Regions from separate parts of the Homo sapiens genome. Here all the other regions are linked to region 2. The links are contacts of gene promoters, found by promoter capture Hi-C in human tissues and cell types (Jung and others, 2019). All regions are on one chromosome and are shown on one strand. The core of a region is centred on a gene start or on the middle of the fragment in contact, and the rest is flanking DNA. Distances in the headings are between cores, read along the strand shown. Region 1 has its middle 7.7 kb from the start of LINC00404. Region 2 holds the start of SOX1 (SRY-box transcription factor 1). Region 3 overlaps SOX1-OT (SOX1 overlapping transcript).

What was found. Contacts are between HindIII fragments. The study calls those that stand out against the background at their distance.
Region 1: a fragment that was not itself captured here is called in contact with the fragment with the promoter of SOX1 in region 2 in 15 of the 25 tissues and cell types used here (H1 embryonic stem cells, IMR-90 fibroblasts, aorta and 12 more).
Region 3: a fragment that was not itself captured here is called in contact with the fragment with the promoter of SOX1 in region 2 in 10 of the 25 tissues and cell types used here (H1 embryonic stem cells, dorsolateral prefrontal cortex, liver and 7 more).

The regions. Positions count from the first base shown.
Region 1 is chr13:112,112,759-112,115,842 of GRCh38, forward strand. No RefSeq gene overlaps it. Among named protein-coding and RNA genes, the nearest start is that of LINC00404, 7.7 kb to the left of the region's middle. RefSeq lists an enhancer at 1-453. The HindIII fragment of the contact is 5,932 bases long and covers 1-3,084 here.
Region 2 is chr13:112,065,810-112,068,926 of GRCh38, forward strand. It overlaps SOX1 (SRY-box transcription factor 1), which reads left to right and starts at 1,340. Exons shown (of 1, transcript NM_005986.3): 1 at 1,340-3,117. The coding sequence starts at 1,850. The coding sequence ends at 3,025. All of the region lies in intron 1 of SOX1-OT (SOX1 overlapping transcript), which reads left to right. The HindIII fragment of the contact is 28,986 bases long and covers 1-3,117 here.
Region 3 is chr13:112,020,354-112,023,356 of GRCh38, forward strand. All of the region lies in intron 1 of SOX1-OT (SOX1 overlapping transcript), which reads left to right. Among named protein-coding and RNA genes, the nearest start is that of SOX1, 45 kb to the right of the region's middle. The HindIII fragment of the contact is 4,707 bases long and covers 1-3,003 here.

The sequences.
Region 1 (3,084 bases), core at 180-2,679, 47 kb after region 2:
TCCACGCACCGTCTCACTGCTCTTACCAGCCCACCACCCTAGCCCATCACCCTAGCCCACCACCTTAGCCCACCACATTGGCCCACCACCCTAGCCCACCACCCTAGCCAGCACCCTAGCCTACCTCATGCACCAAACCCAGGACCATCCCAGAAGCAGACACAGCACACTGAGCCTTCCTCCAAGCCCTCCAGTGCTTCTACTGAAGCGTATTTCTCCCCAGAAGAAAACTAAGTCCATTCCTTCTTTCCCGCTGTGCATTTTGTGAGGACGGACTGGATGGAGGCCACAGAGCATGAGTCAGATGCCCAGCACACCCGGCTCCTCTCTGATCTGAGACGCCCATCACACCCGGTTCCTCTCTGATCGGAGCAAATCTAAGGTTTGTGGCTTTTAAAAATGTCTATTTCACGTGTTTCTCTGTTAAAGAGGAAAGGTGGAGGCAAGGGTGGGAAGGGCCCTCAAAGCTCCTTTCATGGGAGGATCTTTCTGAAGATCTGTGGCATGGTCTTTTATTTCTAGTCCAAAAAAAATTAACTGACACCTTCACTGGAGATTATTCATAAGCAAACACGGTAATTTATATTCTTTGATAAGACAGGAAAAGATGATAGGGTAAGAATTCAATGCAGTAGATGTTTGTCAGGTATCTACCATATTTATGGTGCTTTGCAAAGTGCAGGATACGGAAGTAAAGACGTTGGTCATGAATCATGCTCTCATGAAATTTACAACCTTGTAGCGAAGAGACAGTAAACACTTGTTCAGCAGGACAACTGCAATTACAGGTAATTCAGTGGGGCACTTAGAAAGGAGTGGCACTCTCCTCCTGGGAGAGGAGAGAACGCTTCCCAGGATCTCAGTCTTGAGGAAAGAGGAGAGGAAGGGAAAGACTTTCTTGCAGGGGAACAGCATTTACAGAGGCACGGGGCAGGACATAGCAAATCGTCTTCGGGAAAGTGGGCCCCATACCAAGGGGCAGAGCTACAGGAATAGACGCTTTGATGATTCTGCAGAGGAAAGGATGGTTCAGAGCTGGGTAGTCAGAGAAAGTTCCCAGAGGAAGATGGAATCTGCTCAGGGCCTCCAAGCAAAGCCCCTGCCTGGAGGGCCTGATTGGAAGGTAGCAGCAGTCCCTCGGCAGAGGAAGTGAGAGGCTGCACTGGCTTCTTTCCTGAATGCTTGCAGTGTGGGCATGCCTCAGCTTGGCTGAAGCCAAAGACGCTGTTGAGTATGTGAGCAGAGGGTAACCATGTTGGAGGAGAAGCATCTGGCTGTGCAATGGAGGGCCTTGGACGGCAGGTGCATGAATGCTGACCTGATTCTCTGGGCAGTGAGGACCTCTGGAGTGATTCTGAGCAGTGGAATACTGCTCAGTGCAGTACTCCTGCACTGAGTGACCTGCAGCATCTTGGTGTATGTATCAGTGTAAGGTCCAAGTGGGGACAGCTCACTATGACAGCCGCTGTGAACCTAGTCTTCAAGCACCTCTTGGTCCATGAGAATCAGCCCTTGAGAAAAGTCTTAGCAACTGTACTCATTCAGGGAGAGAGAGAGATCCATGCCTGCACTGGAGCAGGTGGGGAGTGGCCACACTCAGGATTCTTGGAACAGGTGAGTGGCCCCTGCGTGGTACACATGGCACCTGGGCCTGCCTGTATGACCTTCCACAATGTCTCCACTATCTGGCCCCTTGTTATCCCTTTGGTTGAATTTTCCATTTACACTTCCCTCTGCTCAACCCACATTAGCCACTTGACCGCTTCCTGCCCCACTACGGGCTCTGGCACCGCTGCTTCCGTTTCCCCAGAGGACTCTGCCCCTCACCTCCTCGCCTCCTACCATCGGCCCTTTGCTCAGAGGCCACCTTGTCAGTGAGGCCCTCCTGACCGCCTGTTTAAATTGGCCCCAACCTCTTTTCGTCTTCTTTCATCTCCGTAGCACTTACCCCAGGACCAAGCCAAATCCCTCCTTGGCTTTCTTTGTGTGGTCTCCGCACCCAGAACCACACTTCACCCGGGAGGGATTCCTGCCTGTGCAGTGCATGCTGCATCCTCGGCCTCTGTGCCTGGAACAAGCTGGGTGTGTCCTGGATATTTTCGAAGGAAGGAGGAATGAACATGTGGCTGAGGGTGAAACATGATGAAGGCCATGAGGAGGAGGCCAGCTTTGGAGACGGAGGGAGCCATGTCCTTGGATGCCGGGAGTGAATGGCCTGGGGAAACCCTGCGTGTTTGGGCAGCAGCCTCTGGCCTCCTGGAAGTAGACGGTCATGATTTTCGGGTGAAACAAGGAGGCAAGGGCGTGATTTCCTCAAGCCATGCAGCGGGAAGTGGAGGGCTGATGAGTGCCATGAGTCAGGGGTGAGTTTTGCCAGGTGAGTCCTGGGGCAGCTGGCACTGTGGGATCCTGCCAAGTGAGTGGAAGGGCTGGCCATGGGTGAGAGACGGAAAAGGCGGGTGTAGGACAGCCCAAGTGCAACGCCATTCACTGAGGCACTTTCTGAAGCACAGATGGGGCCCACATGCACAGAAGAAGGTTTGCTACATTGGGTAAGAATCATTTTCCGAGCTTTTTTGATGAAAAAATTGAATTGCCAAAATTAATATCTTGATCAAATATAAAATCCTTTTCCCATTATGATGGGTAATAAAATATACATCTATACTTAATGTTTAAGTGTTTATAGATGACATTTTTGGTTGATTTTTCAAAGAATGAAAGAAATTAAAACTTAATAAATGAGAGCATTTCAAAACACATCTCAGTACATTCTGTATTCTGGTCTGGAAAAATATTTTCACTTTAAACCTTGTGAACACAAGCTTTGAAATACTGATGACTTGGCAGTTAGCTCACACACCTTGAGAAAATTCTATTACATCCCATTTGTACAAGCAGAAACGACGTATCTTCTTCCAGAGGATGTTTTCTCCTCTTTGGATTTAATTGGTGGAAGAACAGAAGGCAGAGCAGGGCTGGTTCATGTGCCCGCCTGGAGAGAGGTGGAGACACTCCGCAGAGCTTCTCTGTGTGGCATCTCAGTCTCAGGCCCTGCAGGCAGCACGCAGCCCGGCTACGGAC
Region 2 (3,117 bases), core at 90-2,589:
TTACTCTTTCCACGAGCCAGGCCTTTCCTTTGCATGACGCAGACCGGCGGCTGAGACCCGTCCTGAGGCCCCGCCTTTCATTCGGTTTATGTGGCCCCGCGCAGTTCACGCAGTTTTCTCCGTTCTTAGGCAACCAGCTCGTGGGAAATTCACTCCAGAAAAGCGTGCGCCATATCATTATTTTGCGATTCAACAAACTTTTTCAACTGTTGTTCAGGAACTAGATTCCAGATAGATCTTGTTGTGTTCGGCCTTCCTAGAAATTCCTTTTCCAGAGGAAGAAGATCCGGGTTGGGAAGAGTGCGTGACTATGGCCCCGGGCTCATTGAAAGACTCCTCCCCACAAAAGTTTAGGGCTGATACTAAACGAAGCTATGGAGCCATGCCCACACAAATACTCCCCCTTTACCCGAATTGTGGGGCCTGGACTGTGAAGGCCTTCGCTGCAAGAGCGGGCACTGGCGAACTTCAGTGCACGCCGCGGCCGAGAACGGATGCAGGGCGGGGGATGGCTGAGCCGCCTGATCCTTGCAGAGAACCTGCAGGGGCCCTCGGAGGGTATCCCCTGCGTCCAAGGGAGCGCCCCTCCTTTTCAGCACTCGGGGGAACTGAGGGCGACGTGCCAGCCCCGCACTCAACTTTCCCCTTCCCTGCAGGCACAGAGTTGGCCGGCGGGGGCAGAGGAGGAGCTGGGTCTCCACTGCGCCCGTTTAAACCTGGCCAGGGGCTGCGTTTCCTCCCCCCACCCCACGACGATCCTTTCTTAGTCTTCGCTTTTCAACCCAATCGTTAATCATTCGGAACGCGCGGGCGGGGAGCGGCGAGGAGGGCGAGCTCGGGGTTCGCCGCCGCCGCCGCCGCCGCGCGCGCGCGCTCAGGAAGCGGTGTGGCTGTCACCCCCTCCCGGGCCTCCTCCCCCCTCCTTCCTGCTTTGCTCCCCCTCCTTCCTCCCCTCCTCCCCGCTCCGCCGCCCGCGCCCAGTGTATCTACTCCCTCCCCACGTCACTCGCCAGCGCGCCATGCAAATCACCGCCGCCGCCGGCTCCCATTGGCCGCGGCGCGCTCATTTAATGGCAGCCCGGGCCCGGCGTATGGCTGCTGGGCCCCGCGCGCCGCCGGCCCCGCGTGCGCCTCCGCTCCGAGCGCACGGCCCCGGGCAGGCAGCGGGCAGCCCATCCCGGGCTCGGCGGCCCCGGCTCTCCGGCCCTCTCCGCGAGCCCGCGCTCCTCCCGCTGTCCCCGGGCCCCTCCCTGGCTGCACCGTAATCGCCCCCTGCAGGCCCCCCTGCGCCTCCCCCCCCCCGCCACTGGCGCCTGGCTTCCCCCGGGCACCTGGGACCAGCACATGCCCAGCGCACGCGGCGCGCCGCCCTGCTAGAAGTTGCAGCCTCCGAGTTGGAGGCCGCTGAGGACCGAGCGCAGGAGGAAGGAGACAGCGCGCAGCGGCGGCCGGCGAGGAGACAGCACACCCCGGGCCGGGCCCAGCGCACCGCTCCCGGCCCCAAAAGCGGAGCTGCAACTTGGCCACGACTGCACCTGTTTGCACCGCTCCGCCGAGGGCGCCTGGGCTGCGGTGGCGGCGAAGACGGCGACCCCGACCGTCGGCCTCTTTGGCAAGTGGTTTGTGCATCAGGAGAAACTTTCCACCTGCGAGCCGAACCGGCGCCGAGTGCGTGTGTTTCTGCCTTTTTTTGTTGTCGTTGCCTCCACCCCTCCCCATTCTTCTCTCCGCTAGGACCCCCCCGCCCCCGTCTCACTCCGTCTGAATTCCTCTCCGTCTCCCTCCCACCCCGGCCGTCTATGCTCCAGGCCCTCTCCTCGCGGTGCCGGTGAACCCGCCAGCCGCCCCGATGTACAGCATGATGATGGAGACCGACCTGCACTCGCCCGGCGGCGCCCAGGCCCCCACGAACCTCTCGGGCCCCGCCGGGGCGGGCGGCGGCGGGGGCGGAGGCGGGGGCGGCGGCGGCGGCGGGGGCGCCAAGGCCAACCAGGACCGGGTCAAACGGCCCATGAACGCCTTCATGGTGTGGTCCCGCGGGCAGCGGCGCAAGATGGCCCAGGAGAACCCCAAGATGCACAACTCGGAGATCAGCAAGCGCCTGGGGGCCGAGTGGAAGGTCATGTCCGAGGCCGAGAAGCGGCCGTTCATCGACGAGGCCAAGCGGCTGCGCGCGCTGCACATGAAGGAGCACCCGGATTACAAGTACCGGCCGCGCCGCAAGACCAAGACGCTGCTCAAGAAGGACAAGTACTCGCTGGCCGGCGGGCTCCTGGCGGCCGGCGCGGGTGGCGGCGGCGCGGCTGTGGCCATGGGCGTGGGCGTGGGCGTGGGCGCGGCGGCCGTGGGCCAGCGCCTGGAGAGCCCAGGCGGCGCGGCGGGCGGCGGCTACGCGCACGTCAACGGCTGGGCCAACGGCGCCTACCCCGGCTCGGTGGCGGCGGCGGCGGCGGCCGCGGCCATGATGCAGGAGGCGCAGCTGGCCTACGGGCAGCACCCGGGCGCGGGCGGCGCGCACCCGCACGCGCACCCCGCGCACCCGCACCCGCACCACCCGCACGCGCACCCGCACAACCCGCAGCCCATGCACCGCTACGACATGGGCGCGCTGCAGTACAGCCCCATCTCCAACTCGCAGGGCTACATGAGCGCGTCGCCCTCGGGCTACGGCGGCCTCCCCTACGGCGCCGCGGCCGCCGCCGCCGCCGCTGCGGGCGGCGCGCACCAGAACTCGGCCGTGGCGGCGGCGGCGGCGGCGGCGGCCGCGTCGTCGGGCGCCCTGGGCGCGCTGGGCTCTCTGGTGAAGTCGGAGCCCAGCGGCAGCCCGCCCGCCCCAGCGCACTCGCGGGCGCCGTGCCCCGGGGACCTGCGCGAGATGATCAGCATGTACTTGCCCGCCGGCGAGGGGGGCGACCCGGCGGCGGCAGCAGCGGCCGCGGCGCAGAGCCGGCTGCACTCGCTGCCGCAGCACTACCAGGGCGCGGGCGCGGGCGTGAACGGCACGGTGCCCCTGACGCACATCTAGCGCCTTCGGGACGCCGGGGACTCTGCGGCGGCGACCCACGAGCTCGCGGCCCGCGCCCGGCTCCCGCCCCGCCCCGGCGCGGCGTGGCTTTT
Region 3 (3,003 bases), core at 70-2,569, 45 kb before region 2:
CTCTTGTCAACACGTTATTTGTGTTATTTTCAGTTGTTTGTGCTCATTTCTCTTACATAAATCCCCGGGTTTAGGAGGGATTATCTTAGCTTTGTAGTAAATACAGGGATATCTCATTTTATTGCATTTTGCAAATATTACATGTTTTAAAAATTGAAGTTTTGTGGCAGCCCTGCATCGAATAGGTCTTTTGGCTCCATTTTTCCAACAGTATGTGCTCACTTTGTGTCTCCATGTCACATTTTGATATTTCTTGCAATATTTCAAGCTTTATTATTATTATTATATCTGTTACAATGATCTGTGATCAATGATCTTTGACGTTACCACTGTTAACTATTTTGGGGCACCATAAACCATGCCCATACAGGAGCAAACTTAATAAGTGTGTGTATTCTGACTCCTCTACGACAGGCTGTTCCCAGTCTCTCTCCCTCTACTCAGGCCTCCAAATTCCCTAGAGCAAAACAATATTTAAAAGTGAAGTCACTTAATAGCCCAACAATGGCCTCTAAGTGTTCAAGTGAAAGGAAGGGTTGTACATCTTTCACTTTAAACTAAAAGCTAAAAATCATTGAGCTTAGTGAGGTTTGACATAAGCTTAAATAATTCAGCTAACGTCAAAAGCCGAGATAGGCCAAAAACTAGGTCTGTGGCACCAAACTGCTAACCAAGTGGTAAGTGCAAAGGAAAGGTTCTCGAAGGAAATGAAAAGTGCGAGTCAGCGAACACAGGAACGCTTATCATTCAAAACACACTTACTGCTGATATGGAGAAAGTCTGAGTGGTCTAGAGAGAAGACCCACAGCCACAGCATTCCCTGAAGCCAAAGCCTAATCCAGAGCAAGGCCCAAGTCTCTTCAGTTCTATGAAGGTTGAGAGAGGTGAGGAAGCTGCAGAAAAAAAGTTGGAAGCTAGCAGGGGTTTAGTTCATGAGGCTGAAGGAAAGAAGCCATCTCCATAACATAAAAGTGCAAGGTGAATCAGCATGTGCTGATGGAGAAGCTGCAGCAAGCCATTCAGAAGATCCAGCTAAGATCATTGATGAAGGTGGTTAGACTAACAACAGATTTTCAATGTAGATGAAGCAACCTTATATTGGAAGAAGATGCCATCTAGGACTTTCATAGCTAGAGAGGAGAAATCAATGCCTGTCTTCAAGCTTCAAAGGCCAGGCTGACTCTCTTCTCTGAGGCTAATGCAGCTGGTGACTTCAAGTTGAGGCCAATTCTGATTTACCGTTCCAAAAATCCTAGGGCCCTTACGAATTATGCTAAGTCTACTCTGTGGTGTATATGTTGAACAACAAAGAATAGATGATAGCATGTCTGTTTACAGCATGGTTTACTGAATATTTTAAGTCCATTGTTAAGACCTACTGCTCAGAAAAAAGATTTTTTTCAAAATATTAGTGCTCATTGACAATGCATCTAAGTTACTCAAGAGCTCTGATGGAGATGTACAAGGAGATTCATGTTGTATTCATGCCTGCTAACATAACGTCCATTCTGAAGCCCATGAATCAAAGGGTCATTTTAATTTTTCGGTCTTAGTATTTAAGAAATACATTTTATAAGACTATAGCTGCCATAGATAATGATTCTTCAGGTGGATCTGAGCAAAGTACATTGAAAACCTTCTAGAAAGTATTCATCATTCTAGATTCCATTAAGAACATTTGTGATTCATGGAAGGAAGTCAAAATGTCAGCATTAACAGGAGTTTGGAAGAAGGTGATTCCCACTTTTATGGATGATTTTGAGGGTTCAGGACTTCAGTAGACAAAGGAACTACAGATGGGGTGGAAATAGCAAGAGAAGTAGAATTAGAAGAGGAGCTTGAAGATGTGACTGAACTGCTGCACTCTCATGATAAAACTTGAATGGTGAAGAGTTGCTCCTTATGGATGAGCAAGGAAAGTGGCCTACTGAGATGGAATCTACTCCTGATGAAGATGCTATGAACATTGCTGAAATTACACAAAGGATTTAGAATATTCTACAAATTTAGTTGATAAAGCAGCAGCAGGGTTGGAGAAGACTGACTCCAATTGTGAAAGAAGTTCTATGTTGGTAAAATGCTATCAAACAACATCACATGCTACAGAGAAATCTTTCATAAAAAGAAGAGTCAATTAATGCAGCAAACTTCATTTTCTTGTATTAGGAATATTTGTGAGGCCACAACCACCTCAACCTTCAGCAATTACCACCCTGATCAGTCAGCAGCCATCAACATTCAGGCAAGACCAGAAAAGAAGATTACAATTTGTTACAAGCTAAGATGATCATTACCATTTTTTAGCAATAAAAGTATTTTTAACTGAGGTATGTACATTGTTTTTTAGACACAATGCAATTACACACTTAATAAACTACAGCATAGTGTAAACATAGCTTTAATATGCAATGGGAAACCAAAACATTCAAGTGACTCCTTTTACTGTGATATTTGCTTTATCGTGGTGGTCTAGAACTAAACCTGGAATCTGTAGGGTCTGCCTGACCTGCATCTCTAGGGTCTGCCTGACCTGCCAAACAGGCTGTCAAGACGATTGTCCCAGCTTACACTGTGGTCTGTACGCGTGAGTGTGTGTGTTTCAGAATAGGTTATGTTTTCACATGGTTCAATATCAAAACAATGTCAATAGGTATAGGTGAAAAATGTTGTAATTTTCCCCATGCTCACATCCACCCCTGCCCCTGCCCTCAGGTTACCACTCAGTTTCTTATGTATCCTTCCTGAGTTTCTTGGTGTAAACAGGAGGAAATATAAGTATTTATGCTTATTCTTATTTTCCCCACTTCCTTCCACACCTTTCTGTACCATCCTATTCCACTAAATATTATATTCTGGAGATTCATCCTTATTTCCAGCAGAGAGCTTTCTCATTCATTTTTACAGCTTCATATTTTGTTTATAATAAAATATACTATTCAATCATCTTTTATCTTTTATTAATGACACTAGGTGTATTAGTCTGTTTTCATGCTGCTGATAAAG